3 separate regions of the Homo sapiens genome follow, and regions 2 and 3 are each linked to region 1. Evidence: promoter capture Hi-C in human tissues and cell types (Jung and others, 2019). All regions are on one chromosome and are shown on one strand. The core of a region is centred on a gene start or on the middle of the fragment in contact, and the rest is flanking DNA. Distances in the headings are between cores, read along the strand shown.

Region 1 (2,825 bases), core at 73-2,572:
CACGCACACACAGACCCCGGCAGCGGGAACGCAGATGACACGCCCGTAACATGGAAGCCGCCGCCGCCGCCGCTCCGACGACAGCAGCAGCAGCCACAGCAGCAGCCGCCGGCGGCGCCGCGCTGAACAAAGGTCATCCGAGCTGCGGCCCAGACGCCCGGGCTTGACCGCCGCGAAGGCCAACCCCGGGAAGGGGGTGGGTGTGCGCCTCTGGGGGTGCGGGGCGGCGGGAGGCGGCCGGGGCGAACGAGGGGCGCAGGGCAGCCGGACCCAGGGGCGCGGGTGGGCGCCGGGCAGAGGCGGGGTGCGGCCCCTCGTGCCCACTCCTGCGGGCCGGGGTGAGCGCGTGAGGCTCAGGCCCCTGGGCCTGCCCGCAGTGGCCTGTCCCACCCTGGCCTTGGGGACAGCCGGCCTTCGCGCCCCGCCAGCTGGCTTGGGGGGCCGAGGAGGAACCGCCCGGGCTAGGCCCCGCAGGTTACGAGACGGGGGCCACGTGAGCGCGGCTCTCCTACTCCCCCCGCCGGCGCCGGCCGGGCACAGATGCGTTTCCAGAGGCCTCCGTGCCCCCTCTCCCACTGGCCCTGCCTTCGCCCCCCGCCCCCTCCCCAGACAGCCCCAGTTTTCTTCCCCCGAGGTGAAGGGATTTGGACTTCTCCCCCCAGGTGCTTGAAAGAAGAGAAGGTTGGAGGAGGAGGAGGAGACTGGGGGGCTGCTGGTGGTGGTGACAGGGCTGGGAGAGAGAGGAGAGGGACGGAAGGGAGGAGGGGGCTGGGTGGGGTGGGGGTGACAGCAGAGAGGAGCCTGGTCAACAAGCCAGCACCACTGTGCTAGGAGGCCAGGCCGGCTCTGCAGCCGACGCATCCCGTGTGAGCAGACACACATAGCTCGCTTTCTTGGGGGCTCTTTGTCAGCCACCAACACAGAGAGCACACACTGACACACACGTACACAAAGATCTGAGCCAGGTTGTGGGAGGTAAGTGGGGGAAGGAGAAGGAGGGGGAAACAGTGTCTGCGGTGGGCTGTGGGGTGGAGGGGAGGGGGGATGGGCCCTGAGGGGCTCTGGGGTGCTTGCGAGGTGAGCATTTCCAAGGCTGTGTGCTCGTGGGGTGGGGGGACACACGATGACCTTCTCCTCCTCAGGAAGACCTAAGAGGGAAGAGCAAACCCCAGCGAGATCCCCCCTGTGCTGATGATTTTCAGGGACTTGTTGGCAACTCAGCGAGGGTTGCCATAGCTTTTTTATGTAGGGTGACCAGAACCGGCTGAAACTGGTTTGAGGCAGATCAGCTCCTGAACACAATGCAGTCACTGAGCTACTACAGTAGGATAGCAGCTTCCTCCCTTCATGGCAGCCAAAAGCAGAGGAGCTTGCAGGAAGGTACCATCCCTACACAGTATGTGAATGCACACTTAGACACCACACAGCACTGGTACGTGACTAATGGAGCCCTAAAAGATTCTGGGTAGAGAAGATGGAAAAAAAGGTGCAGGTTTGCAGGGTCTGAGATTACTTGGGCTTTTCCTGCCTTTTTCTTTTGCTTAAGGGATGGACAAGGAGCTGAGATTTATGACCCTTATTAGAGAAAAAAATGTGCCTTGCTAGGGTGGGGACACTTGGTTGATGCAGTCTCTCTCTCTCTTTCTCGGTGTTTATAACAAAACAAAACCAAAATGAACTGAGGGGTTTGTAATGGTAGTTTGTTTGTTGCTGGAGAATGCTACTTTGCATGCTTTTTTTCTCTTGCAGGGTATGTTCTGTCTTGTGCTTTTTCTTTTAGAAGCTACTAAAGGGTGTTGGGGATGCTTCTGACTATTATGAAGGCCAAAAGGTAACAATATCGTTCTAGGAAATGAACATAAATGCATTCCAGTGATGCTGTTAGCCATACATGCTGTCTTTTTTTTCCTTGTAGGCCTGTTGACTGGGGCTGCTTTTAACCCTTTCCTATTTGCTGAGAATGCAGCCGTGTGACAGTAACTGAACATTGGTCTAAAGTCTTTCCAAAAGGTCAAGGTTCACAAGGTGAGATACGCTGTTTTGAGCATGAATTTAAATATTTATTTGCAGATCCATTTAGACACAGACGGACCGTGGATTGCTACCCAGGAGATAAAATTGGGTTCAGAGTGGAGAAGAAATGCTCTTAATGTTATCCCAGTTTAATGGGATTAGAGTGACTTTATGATGGTATTGCGATCAAGGCGAAATCTGAATGCCTTCATTAAATCGCATGTGTCTGGGCAATTGGGAGAGTCAGGCCTGGAAGGAAGCGAGTGTGGAGAATGGTAGGCGTCAGGGCCTTGTGGAGAATGTGCTGTTTTGCATAAGACGAAAGCAGTACACATGTGGCATTTTCCCGATGATTATAAGAAAAGGAAGGGCTTCACCAAATCGAGGCAGCCTAGCCACCTTTTTAGGATTTGAGGAGTCTGAAGGTAGATTTGCCTTTTGTTCATTCATCACCTTTCTTTTACCTTGCTCTCTTGTGTTAACCTGAAAGGTTTTTCACTCCGACTCAAGTGGTGGAATGTCTTTTATTGATTTTGGGGGCTGTTGACGGTGAGTTCGCCATTGGATTCTTTGTGGCATATGTTTAATGTGGAATACTAATGCAATACCAGGGGGAAGCCGGGTAGTCTGGCTTCATCTGTGAAAAGATGCCTGTTAACTCAAAGCTGTACTGGAATGGGTGGTAGAAAATGTCTGATGCCTTTAAAGATCGCAGTTAGGTTTGAGCAGGCATTTTAATGCACCTTCCAAAACCAGAGGTTGGAGAGGAGAGGAGAGAAGGAAGGAGTGAGGAGAGTAGCAAAGTGAAGAAC
Region 2 (3,284 bases), core at 241-2,740, 270 kb after region 1:
TACCAGCATATCATGCAGACCCTATTGTAAACCAGGCTTGAGGTTTTTCTTTATCAGTTAACTGCAGATGGGAAAATTCCCAGAAGGGGACTGAAGGTATGGACTGGAAAGGACGCAATGCAGTAGTATTGAAGGAGTCTGAGCCACCTGCTTATTCAAATTATTCATTCCTTGTGGATCTGCCTAAGCTTGGTCTCTTATATACCATTTCCACTTGGTGGCAAATGCTGCTACATACATCCATCCTAATGACTAGGTGGGTCATAAAATACTCAGTACATGATAAAAAGCTTGGGGTGCATGGTCACCTGAGGTCCCACATTTGGATTTTCAGTCCCTCCAAGGACCAATGGCAATACAGAAGCTGTTTCTTAAACAGAAGAGTTATCTATAGAGGAGGGCATAGGTTTCCTCCAAAATCCTAAAAATCTGCTCTGCAATTTTCCTTTGGTAGCTGCTAGAGTTTTCATATAGCTTTCTTATTTGTCATCCACACTTTGAGTTATTATTGTATCTGTTGGATAATGAGATCCAAGTGGTACAGCAGCTTTCACAGGAGCTGGATTTGCTGCAGAGTCTTCTCTTTTTATGGTCCTTTCTTAAAACAGAGGCTTCACTTTTTATTTTCCCCTCTTAAAGCTGGCAGCCTTATGGGTCACTGGCAGCCTATGAGTCACAGATGGGTTAAAGTAACACACTCAAAGTGGTCTAGGTTGTCTCCAGATTCCAAAAAGACCTACCAACTGTTGTGCATCTTTACTTGCAGTAGTTGTTTAGAGATGTAACAACTCATCTTTCACCTCGGAAGTAACGCCTCAACATTATCCAGACCATTGAACCACCAGAAACGTCACTAAGATGGCAGATGTGAAATTTTTGTGTGTTTTTTTTCTCACGCCTTCTAGTTTGCATATTTCTTACTAAGGCATCTAGTGCACTTTCTAGTTCCAATTCATCAGCTCCAATCAGTATAATTTTATCAATGTAGTAGAAGAATGTGATGTTTTTCAGAGTGTCAAGATGATAAAGATTTCTGTAACTATATTGTAGCAGATGGCAGGAAAGTTGACATAGTCCCAAGATAAGACTGTGTGGGTGTACTACTGGCCCTGCTAGGTATAAGCAAATTGGTTCTGCTGGTTCTTACAAATTGATATGAGGGGGAAAAGCATTATTTAAGTCAACAGCTGCATACCAAGTGCCAGGGGCTGTGTTGCTCAAATACAGATCTGGAATAGCAACACAATTAGAATGACCATTTGATTAAGTTTATAATAATCCATAGCCATTCTCTAACATTTACCCATATTCTGTACAGGCCAAACAGGTGAGTTAAGTGGGAATGTGATGGATATCACAAACTCTGTATCATTTTGTCCATTAATAGTGGCTGTGATTTCTGCAATTCCCTGCCCCTCCACCCCCAGGGATGCAGTATTGCTTCTGGTTTACTATCTTGGTGAAGAGGGAACTTTCTATGGACTTCTACTTAGTCCCTCCTACCATAATGGCCCTTACCTATGGGTCAGAGAAAGAACTTGGGGATTCTGAGAGTGACAAGTATATCAATTCCAAATATACATCCAAGAGGTGAGGAAAAAACAATTGAGGGAAAGGGAGCATAGACCAGTTGGTCCCACTGTGAATCAGATTTGGGCTAAGGCTTAATCTGCCACCTGACTGCTATAAGCCTTCACTTTGACTTGTGAGCACAGTCACATCTGAGGTCTCTAGGAGTTAGTCAATACAGAGACAATGTCTGCTAATTCCCAAAATATCTGTGTAGTTCCTTTTCCCCAGTGTATAGTCACTGTTATAAATGACTACATGTTCCACTGGGAAAGCTTAGGAAAAAAGCTAAGGTATACACTACCTGACTGAGTATTAGTTATCTGAGCTGTGACAGACTGGGACTGGCAAAGCGGAAACTGCATACTTTGGTGCTGATGAGACTCCCTGGGAAGCCACCCCCTGAGGTATAAGTTACACTTGCTAGTAAGCCACTCTAAGTGGTACTGGGAAAACTTGCTGAAAAGCATGTACCCCTGGGTGTCCCACAGGCCACTGGAACTAGAAACAGAAGCCCCTTCCTCCTCTAGTGTCTTTCCAGCACCATCTACTGAGAAAGCTTAACAATATTTAAAGTTAGTCCAGCTGACAATGCACAAATGTTTCCAGTATCACAAAGCAGAATGAAGAAGGATGGATTTGGAGCTGAAAGGCAAGAAATTGATTAGACTATTTATTGTATCAGTTTTTTAAAAAATTGAGCACCTGTTACCTGCCAGGCATGGTATTTGCTGCCAGGCATGCAGAATTTAAGAGATCGAATTGATGGCAGCGGCTGCCATCACACTAGCTGTAGCAGAGAGGTGTGGCTGGGGCTGCACACCCCATGGAGCTGGTGGGAGCCCTACTTCTTCTGAATTGGGGAAGGAGCTCCCTGCCTGTTGCTGCAGCCACCCAAACTGTGGCTGGTGGTTTGGGTGGTTTGGTTCTGGTGGTTCTTATAAATTGATATGAGGGAGAAAAGCATTATTTAAGTCAACAGCTGTATACCAAGTGCCAGGGGCTGTGTTGCTCAAATACAGATCTGGAATAGCAACACACAGAGGTGCAGGACCTGGGCGTCTCTCCAGCCTGCACCCTGGGGGGCCTGGGAATCCCCCCCCCCAACCCCTGCAGGCTCAGAGGTGTCTACTCCTGCTGCCTGGCCTCTCTCCACTCCCTGTGCTGGCTCTGCTCTCAGAGTGGGCGGTTGGGGTGGAGCCCTGGGGCCATGAATGGCAGGGTTCAGGCCAGGGCCTGAAGGCTGGGGGCTGGACTGCCAGTCTTGCAGACCAGAGTAGGGACTCGTGGTGCCTCTTCCAGGCCTGGCCATAGCTCCTCATGGACCAATCAGCAAATACTTCCTCCCCTCTGAGGTTCATAAAAGCCCTGGGCTCAGCCAGAGCAGGAGAGAGGACAACCAGAGCAGGGCAGAGAATGGAGAGATGATGGGATGACCACCTCAGAGAGGAGCTATCCTCTTTGCTGAGATCTTCAGAGACATGCAGAGATGTCTGAAGAACCTGCCTGGGAGAGGAGCCATGCTCTCCAGGGTTGCTCCTCTCTGTTAAGAGTGGCAGACATCCAGGGTCTCCTCTCTGCTGAGAGCAGCAGATGTCAGGATAACCAGTGGGCAGAGACAAGCTACCCTCTTCAGGGCTTCTCTCTGCTGAGAGATGAACACATGACAGGACAACCTGCCTACAGAGAGGAGCTAGCTATCCCACTGTGGGTCT
Region 3 (2,820 bases), core at 228-2,727, 490 kb after region 1:
ATCTTAGAATCCTAGGCAAGCACAGGAATCCACCTGACACATGAATGCTTTTCTCATTATCCCAGTCAAGCAGTGGTTCAGCCTCTTCAATACATTTCATTTCTAATAATCCTCTCACGAGTCCCACCCTAAACAACAGTCACTGAGGTTCAGGGTGGTTGCAGGAGAAGGCCCAAGGCACCAGAGTAAGGGAACTTGAGTCATTACTTCTAGAGTCAAAATTTTGTCAGAGACTTAAGATTCAGTCACACAGGCAAAATGTTCTGGTATTCTGTCCAAATTTTCAGCAAGAGAATAAAATCTGTCAATATGAAGAGTTACTCTCTATATACTGTAGAATGGAAACATGTGAACTAAAAATTAGTTTAAAATAATTAATTTTAAAAGATCATTTAGCATTTGGTTCATATTAATATGTTTCCTGTGATTAGTAATATTCCTATTTCATTTTACATCATTTACAACTGGTCCTCCTCCACAGAGCCTTTTAAATTAGAATCAACAATCAGGAAGTTATTTGCCTTTGAGTCTTAAAAAGACTGTAGATTATTACATTCAAATTACAATACTAAAATCCTCCAATTGTTCAGTATTTTTTTCCTTGAATTCTAACAAACTGAAAATCCAGCATGAGTCTTCATTGTCTAGTTCCAATTATTTTTATTTATTTATTTATTTTTTGAGACAGGGTCTCGCTCTGTCGCCCAGGCTGGAGTGCAGTGGTGTGATCTCGGCTCACTGCAAACTCTGCCTCCAGGGTTCACGCCATTCTCCTGCCTCAGCCTCCCGAGTAGCGGAGACTACAGGCTCCCGCCACAAAGCCTGGCTAATTTTTTTGTATTTTTAGTAGAGGCGGGGTTTCACCGTGTGAGCCAGGATGGTCTTGATCTCCTGACCTCGTGATCCGCCCGCCTCGGCCTCCTAAAGTGCTAGGATTACATGTGTGAGCCACCGCGCCCGGCCCCAATTTTTTTTTAAAGGACGTAACACATTTCATTGTACTGTGAGTTAGCAGGAATGTTAGGAAGGACTGTAACTGAAAGCCTAGGTACAAACTGTCCACTGATTATTACTTCTTTATGAGATCATCAATAACCTTCCTTATTCACCTTATGGTTTCAAACCATTGTTAAAGACTACACTTGCAATATTTAAGATCTCTTGCTTTGGCTGTGTTTCCCCCACCAACAGCACTTATTGCTTTCAACCTCCTCTTACTTTGTTTTTCCCTCCAATGTGGAAACAACTGGGACAAGCTAGGGTGCAAGTACTCATGAAAATAAATACTTCTTGAGCACTTCACATTGGCACAATATTAGGAACTAGGAGAAATACAGGATATGCCTATTGTGAGAAGTTTACAATCATATTGATAAGAAGAGATATACATATAGTTAATAAGCAAATCAGTACAACATATCTCAAGGCCAAATAAGCATTAGAGAAAAAAAAATACTCTAAGAGTTTAGGAGAGACAGATCATTATGAGCTGTTTAGGAAATCTGATAGAAAAGGGATCTGAATTTGTGTGCTCAAAGCTAAGTATGACTTTAACAAGTAGAAAGAAAAGGAATTATTACCAGACTGAGATGTACAGAGAGGTGAAAACCAATAAGTAGCAGTCACGTGTCCAGCCAGTCTCTTCAAAACGTGTACCTGAAAACACTAGCTCCATGATCACTCATAGACATTAGGTGAAAAAAAATTCCATAGTTAAGTCAGTCTGGGAAATGTGAGGTCTAATAAAGGTTTATTTATCCTTTCTTTATAAAGGATCCTTCATAAAGAAATCTTTAATGTGCTAATATGCAGAGTAGTGACCAATCTCATCAATTGTGGAACCCTTTCTGGGGAGTACGTTTTGCAAGGCTATTGTTTTGGAGTGCTGCCAGGGCTCACAGCCTCACGGTGTTGGGTCACACGGACAGTCTGCACCCACCATGCTTGATGTCTGGGCTTTGCTACATGCAGGTAAGCAAGACTTACTGATGACTCTAATGAAACTGTACAGGGTGAATAATTATAGTGGAATTCAAACCCAAGCTAATTATAATACATTGGACACTTGCTCTATTCTAAGATCTCTAAATTAGCTTGGAATTAAGACTAAGCCAATACAGTTTTCCACAGAACTAACTTTCTCAGAGATTTAGACCCAGGAGTGTAAGTCTAGCTCATGATTTAGGTGAAAGAAAAATTCATACACTATTTTTTTTACTTTTAAGTATTATATAACCAGGTATTAATGGCATCTTTAAAAAGCAAAGTTTACAATGCATAGTGATCTTAGTTATCATAACTGCCAGTTAGATATCTCCACCTATATGTTATGCTAACCTCAATTTACCTACAACTAAACTCATTACCAACCCTCTGATTTCCCATTCCTCCCCCAAACAGATAAAACACAAACAAATGTGCTGCTTCTTTGCTAGTAAATAGTACCAATTAGCTGTCCAATTGGCTATATTCAGGAACTCTCCTTGACTCAACAACTGTGTTCACCCCTAACCCCAAGAAAACTGGTACTAAGAATACTGGGACCTAAGTCATCTTTCTAAATTGCAAATCTGATAATTTCACTTCCTGCTTAAAACCCTTTAAACATTTTTAAAAGCTTCTTATGGGTTAAACTACAGGAAGCTGTGCAAGGCCTGTTACTGCCCTTTCAACCTCACTGCTCACTGATCTCTTCTATCTCCCAGCCACACCAAACTACATGCCTTTCCAAAATATTTCAAGCTCTCTCAAGGGCCTATGCCTGCTTTCTGTGCTTGGAGTACACCCACTCACTCGCACACACACACACCCTCTTCCCCC

Evidence for each region. The method cuts DNA at HindIII sites, captures the fragments that hold promoters and counts their contacts. A contact is called where the count stands out against the background at its distance.
Region 2: a contact is called between a fragment that was not itself captured here and the fragment with the promoter of ZNF532 in region 1, in 1 of the 25 tissues and cell types used here (dorsolateral prefrontal cortex).
Region 3: a contact is called between a fragment that was not itself captured here and the fragment with the promoter of ZNF532 in region 1, in 1 of the 25 tissues and cell types used here (hippocampus).

The regions. Positions count from the first base shown.
Region 1 is chr18:58,863,555-58,866,379 of GRCh38, forward strand. It overlaps ZNF532 (zinc finger protein 532), which reads left to right and starts at 1,323. Exons shown (of 10, transcript NM_001375912.1): 1 at 1,323-1,831; 2 at 1,916-2,025. The HindIII fragment of the contact is 28,079 bases long and covers 1-2,825 here.
Region 2 is chr18:59,129,391-59,132,674 of GRCh38, forward strand. No RefSeq gene overlaps it. Among named protein-coding and RNA genes, the nearest start is that of SEC11C, 8.9 kb to the right of the region's middle. The HindIII fragment of the contact is 3,715 bases long and covers 1-3,284 here.
Region 3 is chr18:59,349,832-59,352,651 of GRCh38, forward strand. The region is part of intron 5 of LMAN1 (lectin, mannose binding 1); the gene reads right to left. Among named protein-coding and RNA genes, the nearest start is that of LMAN1, 8.0 kb to the right of the region's middle. The HindIII fragment of the contact is 6,352 bases long and covers 1-2,820 here.